Linked DNA regions of Homo sapiens: regions 1, 2, 3 and 5 are each linked to region 4. The links are contacts of gene promoters, found by promoter capture Hi-C in blood cells and fetal thymus (Javierre and others, 2016). All regions are on one chromosome and are shown on one strand. Each heading gives the region's core, a stretch centred on a gene start or on the middle of the fragment in contact. The rest is flanking DNA. Distances are from core to core; before and after follow the strand shown. Region 1 has its middle 1.5 kb from the start of DEFA4. Region 2 has its middle 18 kb from the start of DEFA4. Region 3 has its middle 17 kb from the start of DEFA5. Region 4 holds the start of MCPH1 (microcephalin 1). Region 5 has its middle 7.4 kb from the start of DEFA6.

Region 1 (2,700 bases), core at 48-2,547, 530 kb before region 4:
CATCAGACAAAGACCACATGGAACTACCATCACCATGTCCTGTGTCGATTGCAGAAAAATGCTCTGAAGAAATGTTGGTGAAAGCCCACCCCATAATCAATATCGACGTAAAAGTACCTTGAGGAAATCCCTGAGTTATAAGCTGTCAGTGCTCTCTATCTTTGGCCTTGCTGGGTATCTTATGTATGTAAATGTTGTACGGCTGCTCTTAGGCCTGGGGCCTGGCATCCCAGAGAGCTGCTGGAACAGGACAGCCACTGTGAGAAATTGAACCCCAGGCTGGAAAACTGTGGCATGTTGAGGCAATGTGCTAGAGGGGCAAAACCCCAAATGCCACCTGACCTGGATCCAAGCCAGGAAACCCGATCCTTAGATATTGAATGGGACCCATGGCACTAAAGCTTAAACACCAGCAACCCCCACAATCAGAGGCAGGTGGCCCTCCCCATGACCAGGCATGAATACAAACCAGCTAATGATGCCTCAGCACAAACTCAGTCTGTGGCCGGAAAGGTTGGAGCCTCACATGCAGAGAAAGCATTCAAACACGTTCATGGGCTTAGGGATACTTCTGTGCTCCAAAGTATGTGAGTTGTGGATGGAAATGTCCTATCCCCCGACCAAGGAAAGCACCACTCAAGCTTTCACTAAACGCTTCCATGGAGTCCCACAGAGGCCAGAGGCCTGTGCAACACCAGCCCATACCCTCTCTCTTCTTGAGTGACCAGCTGGAAAGGCCACCCCTACCCGAAAGGCCATCACCTCAGAAGACAGTGCTCTGATCCAAGGGTTTGTCCTGGGAAACAGTGGCCTCACCAGAACCAGAGACACCAAGGAATCTCATCTTGACTGTGGGGTCATCCCCAAACCAGACTCACCTTACTCTCCTTCCTGCCGCAAGGTATGGATCTCACCACCCCCGGGACATGGAGTTGGCTCACGTCCAGTACCTGGACCCGTGCTTTCTTAGCTCATGCTTTCCTGAGGACCCTGCAGATGACCCCTTAGAATGGTATTTTGCTGGGATCCCCATTTGTCTTCAGTGTAACCCATTAGTTAAACCGCCTACTGCAAGGAAACCACAAGGCTTGGATCAGATCAGGAGGCTGCCCTACAAGTTATGCCAAAAAATATGGACTTGGAAGACCTGTCTGTTATAATATCACACCCAAATCTAACCAGCTCTGCCAATAACAGCTCTCTCCTATGTTACTAGGAAAATGCCTATGGATTGGAGTGTGTTCTGTGTGCAGGAGGCTGGTCCAGGTTTCACTTCTGCAGGACACTGGACATCCCCACAACCACCAGACCTTCCCCACGTGCACACACACCCCTTCTCATTTTGCCTCTACATCCATATCCACTGGGCCCTTCAGGCACCTACTAATGCCCTAGAACCTAAAACCATCATCTGGGGCCCAGTTCCCCAAATAGCCCTAATTTCTTCCTCTGCTGGAATGAGTCCAGTGCCCACTTCCTCCAAAGGTGAAATTGCTGGGCCTGCAACAGATCAGGAACTCACTGCTTCCTCATAGGGGCAGCCGACTTCACTGCTCTGGAACAGCGACCACCCCTAGCGAGGCTTGAGATGCCTCTTCCCTCCTTAAGACTGAGAGCGCCGCTGCCCCCAGTCCTCCATAGCCCAGTGCCTGCTGCCTTCACGCAGAGCTGCAGGGGAGGCCCTGAGCACCCAGCCTGCTGGACCAGCGCTGTGCACGGCCCTCCCATGGCGGCAGGGGCTGCCTGGACTGCATACTGGGTTCAGCAACCTCACTATAGGTATTCATTCCCTCAGGAACAACTGCATTCTTTTCTCATTTCCAGAAACCTCATCCCGTTTACCTCACTACAAGGAGGAGGATGGTGGAGAGTGGTACATTTTAAAATGTGCACTAGTCTCCCTGGGACTCCCCTTCAAATAACCCAGGAGGGACCACACAAGGGAAAGCTTATGCATCCCCCCCACCCAGTGACCATCTTCCTAACTCTGGGTGTAGGGAGACTCGTAAGCCTACGGGATTGGTTTGGGAACAGGGTATTTGAGCTCACAACACAAGGTGATGCAAGCTAACACCAATCTCGCTGCAGCTTTGGCCACCATCCTAAGGGACTTCTGACAGACATTAGGTGTCACGCAATCATTTGATGAGTCCTTGGCCTGGATGACCTAGACAGTCATTTAGGCTTGAACTATCTAAGGCCAAGCAAAAAGGTGACTGTCCCCTCTAGGGAACCACATGCTATATGCACATCCTTTACTCGGGAGCCTGCAACCTGCCCTATCCAGCAACACAAGCCCAGGCGGTATTCAGTCTCATCCAGGTATTCTCCAACCTTACTTGTCTGAATGGCTTGGATTTGTTTTTATGGTTAGACCCCAGGGCCTGGGGAGGTCAGTTCAGACCACATTCCAAATCCTCATCTGTGTGTGGGTGGCATTTTGATCCTAGTCTCCTCGCAAGGTGTATACAACAATATGCAGGCCAGGCTCTCCTGGTGGCTTTAAATATTCCCTCGGTCCAGGTAGTTCAGCCTCAGCCACCAGCATAGGTATCATGGGGTCAATTGTCTTAGGAGTCATGAGGAATCCATAGTTGATTGCTGCCTGGGCCTGGCCAGGGCTGACCAAAGTAGACGAGGGGTCGGTACCTCCGTGGACTCCTGCTTGAACTCCAGCTTTCTGCCAAATTTCTCAACTGC
Region 2 (2,700 bases), core at 64-2,563, 550 kb before region 4:
ACCCTAGAATCCTTGTCCAATAGGTCCTGCAGATGTCCTTTCAGGACATGACCCCCCGGCCCAGAGGGGGAGTCCAGTGTGAGCCCCTCATATTTACTCTGGATCGTGTAGTTGCAGTCAGTGATTTCAAAACACATGTTTGGGAAAAAAAAAAAAAACTATATTCAAACCATGCCTACTCTTAGCAGGTGGTCACTGTTAAGAGGTCCTAAGGAGTTTGACTGGGATAGAAAAATTACAGGCTTCAAAGAAAGGAAGGTGTCTCAAGTGGGTTATTCACCATTTCTGACTAAATCGTCTCATGGCCCAGACACTGCCGTGACCACCAACACTAACGACAAATGCCCAGAGCCCAGGAGAAGAATGCAGGTGTTTTTACGCACACCCCATGCAGATTCTGAGCAGATCGTGGCTCCAGACTGAGGCTCTGCCTATCTGAAGAGGCAGCTCAGGAGTCCAGGCACCCCTCTGAGACACCGCACAGCTGGGGAACTCAATACAGGTCCCAGGGAAGACACAGTAAGTCTGTGTGTGACAGAGAAATGGTCTGAGCTCTTCCTCTTGTTGAGACAGTGACGGAAACATATTGGGATTCACCGTTTGAAGTGCAGGAGCCTTCCTTAGTTTCTAAGAACTGCCACTGATTCAAAATCATGCGATCATAAGTTACTTTCCATATTGTTCCAAACTGCCATGGGGGCCGAGCTGACTCCATCTCGGGGCATCTGCACTGCACCCCGAAGGGCACCAGCTGGTTGCCCAGACCTGAAGTCTCAGCTAAAATTTCACCTTGTCACTGAGGTCTTTCTCGATTTCTCAATTTTAAATTGCAACAAGTTCCCCTAGTGGCCTCCATCCCTCTTGTTCTCTTTATTCCTAACTGTGGAATTGTAACTATCTCACCTTCTGTACGTTTCACTTACCATCTGTAACATTTCTCTCCCTACAATAGAAGGTGAGCAGCATGTTTTGCTTATCGTTATACCACAGTGCGTAGATAACTGCCTAATACATAGTAGGGGATCAACAAATTCATTATGGATAAATTAATTATAACCAATATCATGTAATTATATAGAATTCTATTATCATCACTAAACTATATAGGAAAAAACTGAAACCTACTGAGGTAAGGCAGTCCATGTGTCTAGTGCCTGTGATAGCAAACCTTTAAGAAACAAATCAAAAACACTGAAGTCTGAAATGTAGAACAATATCCTGGGTAAAATGTGGCTTCATGAAGCATTAGGACTTCAGGAGAAAGACAGAGATCATTTTGTCTTAGAGTGGCAATAAAGGATTTCATGGTGAAACATGAGATATTGAAAATGTGAATTTTCAGTGGTTAATTTCATGGTGAAACATGAGATATTGAAAATGTGAATAGATTAGAAGAAGGTGTAGAGCAGCATCTGCAGTGGAGAGAATGGCATCCTGGCCCTCAAACCAAAGTGGCGCCCCCGAACTTTAGACACTGGAGGCTGTGGCCACTTTAGAGGGTACCCTAGGCCACTGGTGCCTCTCACCAGATCTCCAACCAAGCAAGGGATGCTCAACTGCAGATGCCGTGCCGTGGTTAACACAGGCTGTGGCCGGCACTCCCTTGTTCCTGGGCCATCAACCTTTCAGCACATTGACTTCACTGGGCCCCTACCACACAGCCAGCACCTTTGCGTGCAGAAGCAGACACACAACCCTGCACTTCCATCAACTCTTCCAACCCAAGACCCTTGGTGTAGCAGGTGCTCTCTTGCTGTGACATTTGCTCTGTGACATTTCCCTCTCGGAAACCACCCAATATCATTGATCAAGACCTAGGCTCCCACTTCAAGGCAGTGGTGGTGACATAGGAATGGGCATCACAGCATGAGGGTTTAGGGGACTCTCACTTGGCCCATTGCCCCCAAGCCACCAGCCTCCCCAAGCAGCACAGTGGCCTCCTAAAGTCATTCTTATTGAAGTTGTGGCATGAAACCCCAAGGGGACCAAGCCCCTTCTGAGAGTCCTAACTTTCTTAACTCTCTACCCTGTGGCCACCAGTGCCTCATTATAATTAGGCCAGGCCCACCATGGTGAACACTTTGGTAATCACAGAAGAGTAAGGTTCATTTTCCCTTACAGATAACATCATTCACATTTGCTCCAATAATGATAACTCCTCATACTGTGATAAGAGGTCCATTGTCTCAACATCATACATTTACTGGAAAACAGATTGTGGATGGATAGTAAGCTGTGAGTCCCTAAGGACTGGCAGCCCAGGCCCACTGGTACCCAGCAGGGCCACAGTGATTCTGCTATACCACACCTCCCATCTTGACGTGCAGCTTCCAGCAGAAGCTCCAGTTCTTACTACTTTGAAATTTAGCTAATGTCTCCCACTCACCCCTTCCTGGAGGTAGTAGGGATTATTGCTCCAAGACCCAAAAAGGGCACAGAATGAGTCACTAAACAAACAGAAGCCTTCAGACTAGTGGACATAGACTACATTAGCTGATGATCACATGGAAGTATCATTCCCAAATGTAGCCTGTGTCAATGGTGGAGAAAGACTCTGAAGAAACATTGGTGAAAGCTCACACCATAATCGATGTCAATATCAAAGCCCTGAGTGATAAAATCTCAGTGCTCTTTATGGTTGGTCTTGCTTGGTATCTTATGTTCCCATGGCTTGTGGAGCTACTGTCAGACTCAGGATCC
Region 3 (2,700 bases), core at 88-2,587, 630 kb before region 4:
TAATACAATACAAAACTTAAACTTTCATACTGCGGTTCCACCCAGGAAGCTGTGTTCCCAATCTGACCCGTGATTATGGGGCCACCTCAGAGGGAACCAGTGAGGGAATATTTTGCCATCTGGGACTGTTGGTTGCTGGGGGCAGTGGCTATGAGCTCAGTTAATAAACTCAAGCAGTTTCCTTCCAAACACACATGTCCTACTTAACGTGTCCAACAGAGATGATCATACTCATAGCTGCTAAAACATTATTTTATTTTGAGAAAAGTCTATTCATGTTCTTGGCCCATGGAGTTTTCATTTATTATTTATTTATTTTGCAGAGATGGAGTCTCACTGTGTTGCTCAAGCTGGTCTCCAACTCCTGGGCTCAAGCGATCTTCCTACTTTGGCCTTTGAAAGCGCTGAGATTGCCTGTGTGAGCCATCATGGGGGCTCACTGGCCCACTGATTAATCAGATTAATTGTTTTTTGCTATTGAATTGTTTGACTTCCTTGTATATTCGGATATTTACCCATTCTAACACGTAGGGTTTGCAAATATTTTCTCTCATGTTCTGTGTTGCCTTTTCACTCAGTTGGTGGTTTCCTTTGCTGTGCAGGTGCTTTAGTGTTCAACGCAGCCCCGCTTGTCTATTTTCCATTTTATTGCCTGTCCCTTTGATGTCATAGCCAAGAAATAATTGCCCAGATTAATGTCAAAAAGCTTTATCCCTATATATTCTTCTAGTAGTTTATGGTTTCAGATCTTATGTTTAGGTCTTCAATCCATTGAGTTGATTTTTGTATGTGGTATAAGAAAAAAGACCACATGTATACATATCTCAAATTCTAAGGTAGTATATATTAGACACATACAATGTGTCTATTTACACACATTGAGCTGAAAATAATAAACATATTTTTATCTTTCAATCAACTCTATCTCTATCTCACTGAACTTGTTTCACCTATAGCCTGATGAGGTTGCTGTCCTCTCTACCCCAGCTCCTATAGGAGACTGCTCATCCCCTAACCTCAAAAACCCCTTCATGAGGGTGATAATGCCCTTGAATCCTGCAATGAATTAGTTCTCTACTACAGTGGAATTCAGGTCTGTTATGAGGGTCTGGATCTCTGAAGAGAAGAGCTCTCATTTTCAGAAAATAAGCAGGATTTATTCCCTGAAATTACTGAATTAAATCACTGTTTCGATTACTTTTTGCAATATTAAAAGTAAATATTTAAACAGGTAAAAACAGAAATAATGGTAGGGTCCTTATCATCACCGTGAATTCCAAGCTAGCATAGACACTAAACCTAGAGATTCACACTAGAATGAAAGCTGGGAGAGCAGAGGAGTCTCAGAAGGATGTGGAGGCCAATGGACACCTGCAACCTCTCCAACGAAATGCCTACCTCCTCTCACTGCAGCATCCATCTCTGAGCCTTCTCGCAGCAGAGCTATAAATTCAGCCTGGCTCCTCCGTTCCCACACATCCACTCCTGCTCTCCCTCCTCTCCTCCAGGTGACTACAGTTAGGAGGACCCTCACCCTCCTCTCTGCCTTTCTCCTGGTGGCCCTTCAGGCCTGGGCAGAGCCGCTCCCGGCAAGAGCTCATGAGATGCCAGCCCAGAAGCAGCCTCCAGCAGATGACCAGGATGTGGTCCTTTACTTTTCAGGAGATGACAGCTGCTCTCTTCAGGTTCCAGGTGAGAGATGCCAGCATGCAGAGCTACAGACTAGACAGAAGGACAGGAGACAGGCTCTGGAATTGGATCTCAGTGGCAGATGTCACTTAGGTGGCTATACTTAACATCTCTGGTCCTGGATTTTCTCATATCTAAATGGAATAGAGAACCAAAGAAATCTAAGAGATTTTTCTTTCTCCAAAAACTTGATTCCAAGATATGACTGTGAAATTCACTAGATTTAAGATATAAGGAGATGCTACCTAGTTCCTTCTGGAGCCAGACAAACAAGCTTAAGTATATAGAAAATATTTCACCCTGTCTATATAGGAGGTTTTAGAACCTGGAGAGGAGCCTAAGAATGTGTTCAGGTGTGTGTGTGATGGGCACGAATGCACAAAAGTGAAGCAAAGGAGAATGAGTCTCGAATCCTGTGTGACCAGCACTGCTCTGTGTATTTATTCCTATTGACTGAGATTGTTTGTGCTACCGGCTGTAATACAGCCAACATCACTCATCAGCCAACATGTGACTTCTCCAAGATTCCCTTTACCACCCACTGCTGACCCCGTACTCAGTTTCTGATGCTCTCTCTGGGTCCCCAGGCTCAACAAAGGGCTTGATCTGCCATTGCAGAGTACTATACTGCATTTTTGGAGAACATCTTGGTGGGACCTGCTTCATCCTTGGTGAACGCTACCCAATCTGCTGCTACTAAGCTTGCAGACTAGAGAAAAAGAGTTCATAATTTTCTTTGAGCATTAAAGGGAATTGTTATTCTTATACCTTGTCCTCGATTTCCTGTCCTCATCCCAAATAAATACTTGGTAACATGATTTCCGGGTTTTTTTTTTTTTGAGGCGGAGTCTCCCTCTGTCACCCAGGCTGGAGTGCAGTGGTGGGATCTCAGCTCATTGCAAGCTCTGCCTCCCAGATTCAAGCAATTCTCCTGTCTCAGCCTCCTGAGTAGCTGGGACTACAGGCGCCCACCACCACGCCTGGCTAATTTTTGTATTTTTAGTAGAGACG
Region 4 (2,700 bases), core at 1-2,500:
CTTAAAAATGTAAAAGACATTCTTAGCTCGTAGACCCTTACAAAAACAGGCAGCAGGCTAGATATGGCCTGGGGGGCATAGTGAGTGGACCCCTGTTCTAGTGGATATCCTCTTCTCAAAACCTGATGTTTAAAAGCATTTTCCAGGTGTGCCGTTGGTCAATGATTGGGGGTAACGCTAAAAGAAAACCAGGTTAATTTAACAAAATACTAACATTAGAAAAATAGCCACATCTGATTACAGACTTTGTATAAAGCCTCTAGTCTTTACTTTTGGCTATGAGGTTTTATGACTCCAGGCCCCACAATACAGGCCCCTTTTTTCTCACGGTCAAACTCTACAAGACACGTGTCCGCTATTCCCCTCTCCTGGGCTCTTCCAGGTGCACAGAGGGTGGGACTGCGTGCGGTATCATATACTGGTTAGGACAGCAGCTCCGGTCTAAGGCCCTGTCAGCACTGACTAGCCACACACAGGGAGAGTCACCTAAACGTCCGATGCCTTAGTTTCTGCCTGTAAAATGATATAAGAGAGTTGATAGAGCGGTTAAAAAAATCAGACAATACCATACTAGCCTAAGCACAGCGCCTGGCACACAAAGACTCCGCAGTAAAAGGCGGCTCCTATTATTGGAACAATTAGCATAGAAACTCAACTGCCGCTCCTCCAGGTGGGCCTCAGAGGGGGTCGAACAGGACCAGACCCAGGAGGGCCCCACACCAACTTCCGGAGGGCAGGACTCTGCCTGCCAGTGAGCCCCAGATCCAGGGACTAAGGCAGCAGGGGTGAAAGCAGGTAGGGGGAAAGGCGGGATTTGGGGGACAGGCAGCATGGGGGAGGGAGCAGGCAGCGGGGGATTGAGGGGAACTAGCAGCACGGGGGTTGGGGCACAAGCAGTACGGGGGAGGAAGCAGGCAGTCGGGGGTTTGGGGGGACAGGGAGCACGGGAGACGAAGCAGGCAGCCGGGGGTTTTGGGGGGACAGGCAGCGGGGGAGAGAGCAGGAGCAGGGGGTTTTGGTGGGACAGGCAGCGGGGGAGGAAGGAGGCGGCAGGGGGTCTGGGGGAGACAGGCAGCGAGGGAGGGGCGAGCGGGGCTCCTCCCACGGGATCCCCCGAGTGCGCCCGCGACGAGGGGTGCCGGTCCTCAAACTCCCGCTGCTGGAGCAGGCAGCAGGAAGTACCTCACCTTTCAGGATGGGGGCCGCCATGACAGACGGCGGGATCCGGCCAGCTGGCCTACGCGGTGCTTGCGAGCCTGGCGGCGCGCGCGGGCACTGGGCATGCGCGGGGTGAGCGCGCCGCCGTCACCGCGCTCCGCTGAATCCGCGTTTCCGGGATTTCTCTGTAGGTGAGGCGGGAGGCTGGAGGGAGCTGAGCCCCCGGGGAGGGGGCCCGATTCCGCCTCGCCGCGCCTCTGGCTGCTGGGCCGTGGGTTTTTCTCTTCTCCTGGGAGTAAGGAGGACGACGGCCCCTAACCCCTGAATTAGCCTTCTATTTCCATTAGTGACTTAGAAGCTACCCGGCGCCTCATCTGGGCTCACCTGAGCTGAGGATCAGGAAGGGGAGGGGGCACAGTCATTCCCTCGCGGACGCGGCGGGACCCCAGCGGACGGCTTTGTGCGGACTTTCGGCACCGTTATGCCCCCCTAGCCCGACACCACCTGGGGCTGGCGCGCCACGTTACTGTTCAGGGCCAGACGCACCGCCCTGCCTGCTCCGGGGAGCCGGACCTCCGATCCCGGGGATGGGGGACCCCGAGACCTCAGACCCAACGGAGGGGACTCTGATACCTCAGACCCCACGCGGGGACCCCGAGGCTTCAGACCCCCACAGGGTGACCCCGAGATCTCAGACCCCCGCAGGAGTACCTCCAGACCTCAAATCCCCAGTAAGGGAATGAAAGAGACTTCGGATCCCTGAGGCAGCAAATCCCTGTAGGGGCATCCCAGGACTCAGGTCACCGCGGGGTGAACCCAGACCTCACATTCAGGCAATCCCCAGGACGCCGATCGGCTGGCACTACCCACTGTCCCGGCCACCCCCCCTGGAGCTCAAAGGCTTGGCCCTCCAGCTGCTCCACCCTGCCGGCAACCAGGCTCAAACCTGCAGCCCGCGGATCCCCTGCCCCGGAAGCAACCAGATTCGCGGGAGGTTACCTGACTGATCCAAGGTGATACAGCTGGTAACTGATGGAGATGTTGGTAGTGAAATTCATGTACTTTTAGTTCTTTCTATGGAATCTAGAGGTAGAATACATGTAAAAGAATATCGACTACCGTCTACTCAGGTCTCTGTTTTATCTGTTTATTCATTCACTCTCAGCTTTTAATAGGATCCAATGAGCCCTCTGTGGTTCTGAAGAATTGCCTTGAGTATATGCAGCCTCAAAAAACCCACTTCCTAGGCTCAGTCTTTGATCAATATTTATCATTATCACCAGTTATTGTTCTAATAAACTCTACTCTGGAAATATGGTGTTATGGTTTACTTGGGAGTGTGAGTTCAGGGCATCATTGAAGACTCACGTACTTTTACTGAGAAAGTGACATTGATCTCTGTAGATTTTGAATTAAATGATATGATGAAGTATATAAACCAATTACTTTTGGTCAAGGTGGTAAAAAAAGTTTAGTATTTGATAGATTCTTCATCTCCACGATCACAAATATTTTCTCCTAGGATTTCTTCTAGAAATATTA
Region 5 (2,700 bases), core at 89-2,588, 510 kb before region 4:
CAATGATTACACCAAATCTCAGCTGTCAAAATTGTGCAACAAATTCAGTGATTCTCAAACAGACACCGCTAAGAATCTCTGGGTCAGGGAAGGGGGTTTAAGTATAGGGTTTTCATGTTATCCAAAAAAGATGTGAGGTTTTGTTGTTGTTGTTTGTTTGTTTGTTTTTTGAGACAGCATCTCACTCCATTGCCAAGGCTGCAGTACAGTGGCGTGATCTCAGTTCACTGCAATCTCCGTCTCCCAGGTTCAAGCAATTCTCCTGCCTCAGCCTCTGGAGTAGCTGGGATTACAGGTGCCTGCCACCACGCCTGGCTAGTTTTTCTGTTTTTAATAGAGATGGGGTTTCACCACATTGTTCAGGCTGGTCTCAAACTCCTGACCTCAAGTGATCCAACCGCCTCGGCCTCCCAAAGTGCTGAGATTACAGGCCTGAGCCACCATGAGCGCAGGGCTAGGATGTGACTTTTTGAGGCTGGAAAACAATGACAGAGAGGAGACCCCCTGGTGGTGAAGTGCGTCTCTATTCTACCACTAGAGGGTGGCAGCGTGTCCCATGGTGTCCCCAAGCCCCTGGACAGCCAGGTTTCCATGAACACCTAGGGGTTCCGCTCATGCTACCAAAGTCCCTGCTAAAGAGAAAGCACTTTCAGAGAAAACAAAGTGGCCCAAGGCCCAAGGGAAACAAGCTGGCAAAAAGGTTCCGCCACACATCCACCTGGCAGCACCCACTCCATCTTCCCTCCCAAATATTCTCTAGTGAAAGACCCTTTTCTCTTTCTTTCCATTTTTTCTTGTGCCAAGCTGTACATTTTTTAAGGCATATATATAATTAGTTCTATTTTTATTATTTGTTTCCATAAACACAAAATTACATGCCAATAAATATAACCAGAACAAAACATGGTACAGAGAAAAAAAAATCTCTGTGCCTGTTGTTTAATGCTAGTGTGCTGGGAGGCATGAAACAGAGAGAATCACCGTCCTCTTCGTAACTTACTGTTCTTTCTCAATTATAATTAAGCAAAAGTTATACGTGAAACAGTGGTTATCCATATTAAATGCCTATAAATATTTTGAATGAAGACTGCCTATTTCATATTTAAAGTTTGCTTTTCCTTGGTGATGTGTCTCAGTCAGATTGATGACAAAGCTACTGGCAGGAAATACTATGTATCTGAATAATTTCTATGCTTTGTTTCAACAACACATCGAAACAAAATAACCTCAGAGTTATCTGCAGAAATAAAAGAAGAAGTAAAAACCTACAGCAAACTCAGAATATTCTTTAACTTTTATACAAAATAAAATGACACTGTATTTTTAGATTTCATCTTTAACCCCTCATCAGCAGCCAGTTTCAACAAGTAGTGGTTTCATTTCAATTATGTTTCAATAAAAGTAATAGATTCTGGTTCCTGGATTTCCTGTGCATCAATCTTATTCGACGAAACAAAATTTCAATGTACTACCTATGTCATAGGCTGTTCAGTGATACAAAGATAGAGAGAGTGAGAGAGAGAGAGAGACAGAGATTTTAGATACAGGTCTGATAGAGACAGAGATAGAGATACAGATATCCTCCTCCTGTTTGCTCACTATGCCAGGGTATTCTCAAAGCATTTATTGAACTTAAAAGAGCCACAGCATACAAGAAACCTGGGTCTTGAATGACTGCAAGGAGCAAAGGCTGCCCCCACATGAGTGCCCCAATGCCCCCCATCCTGCAGCCTATTCCATGAGTCATAAATAAACCTCTATTGCATTGAATCACTATGAGTTGGGGGTTATTTGTTCTCATATTTGCAATATTTGGAAATAACTGTACTAATAAAAATTGTAATTTCTCCAAAAGTCAGATTGAACTGAGTATCTCTTTATATTATCTGCCAACACTAAATTTAATTAACACAAATGAAAGATAATAGGACACCTGCAGCCATCTGTTTTTAATGCACTTTTTGATTTTGGTTATTTCTGCCCCAGTTGCTTTCATTATACAGTGAGAAGAAACAATCTTCGGACTATCTCACATTAATAACATCAAGAGTTGTTTTATAACAAAAAATACTATCAAAGTCAAAATAAATAAGGCGATTACTAATACACTGATCTCTCTGGAGGGAAGGGCTATAACAGATAGGTGGCTTTTTCTTGAATTCTTCAGCCCGAGTGGATGCAGCAGGGTCCAGAATACAGGGTATTGGGGCTCCTATGCAAGAGCAGACTCTGCTCCATGCAGTCATTCAAGACCCAAGTTTCTTCTATGCTGTGGCTGTGTCGAGTTAACAAATGCTTCAAGGATACCCTGGCATAGTGAGCAGATAGGTGGAAGATATCTCTATCTCTAGCTCTATGTCTATCTATCTATATTCGTAATCTATCTGTCTATTTATCTATCTTTCTTGGTATCCCTGAACAGCCTATGATATAGGTAGCACATTCAAATTTTGTTCCATCAAATAAGATCAGTGCACAGGAAGTGCGGGAGCCAGAACCTATTTCTTTCACAGAAAGATAATTCAAATAAAATTATTTTTTTTGAGAGGGAGTCTCGCTGTCTTGCCCAGGCTGGAGAACAATGGCACGACCTCAGCTCACTGCAACCTCCGCCTCCCAGGTTCAAGCAATTCTCCTGCTCCAGCCTTCTGAGTAGCTAGGACTACAGGCATGTGCCACCATGCCCGGATAATTTTTTGT

What was found. Contacts are between HindIII fragments. The CHiCAGO score rates a contact against its expected background, and 5 or more counts as called.
Region 1: a contact is called between a fragment that was not itself captured here and the fragment with the promoter of MCPH1 in region 4, in 3 of 17 cell types (fetal thymus, total B cells and naive B cells). The highest score is 12.1, in fetal thymus.
Region 2: a fragment that was not itself captured here is called in contact with the fragment with the promoter of MCPH1 in region 4 in 2 of 17 cell types (total B cells and fetal thymus); the score reaches 7.1 in total B cells.
Region 3: a contact is called between a fragment that was not itself captured here and the fragment with the promoter of MCPH1 in region 4, in 4 of 17 cell types (naive B cells, total B cells, fetal thymus and 1 more). The highest score is 15.2, in naive B cells.
Region 5: a contact is called between a fragment that was not itself captured here and the fragment with the promoter of MCPH1 in region 4, in 3 of 17 cell types (total B cells, naive B cells and fetal thymus). The highest score is 12.1, in total B cells.

Annotation. Positions count from the first base shown.
Region 1 is chr8:6,938,412-6,941,111 of GRCh38, reverse strand. No RefSeq gene overlaps it. Among named protein-coding and RNA genes, the nearest start is that of DEFA4, 1.5 kb to the right of the region's middle. The HindIII fragment of the contact is 1,307 bases long and covers 644-1,950 here.
Region 2 is chr8:6,955,380-6,958,079 of GRCh38, reverse strand. No RefSeq gene overlaps it. Among named protein-coding and RNA genes, the nearest start is that of DEFA4, 18 kb to the right of the region's middle. The HindIII fragment of the contact is 4,236 bases long and covers 1-2,700 here.
Region 3 is chr8:7,038,260-7,040,959 of GRCh38, reverse strand. It overlaps the pseudogene DEFA7P. Among named protein-coding and RNA genes, the nearest start is that of DEFA5, 17 kb to the left of the region's middle. The HindIII fragment of the contact is 1,257 bases long and covers 709-1,965 here.
Region 4 is chr8:6,405,177-6,407,876 of GRCh38, reverse strand. It overlaps MCPH1 (microcephalin 1), which reads right to left and starts at 1,250. Exons shown (of 14, transcript NM_024596.5): 1 at 1,188-1,250. The coding sequence starts at 1,209. It overlaps MCPH1-DT (MCPH1 divergent transcript), which reads left to right and starts at 1,329. Exons shown (of 2, transcript NR_040040.1): 1 at 1,329-2,171. RefSeq lists silencers at 989-1,168, 1,429-1,508. The HindIII fragment of the contact is 9,682 bases long and covers 1-2,700 here.
Region 5 is chr8:6,917,316-6,920,015 of GRCh38, reverse strand. No RefSeq gene overlaps it. Among named protein-coding and RNA genes, the nearest start is that of DEFA6, 7.4 kb to the left of the region's middle. The HindIII fragment of the contact is 7,598 bases long and covers 1-2,700 here.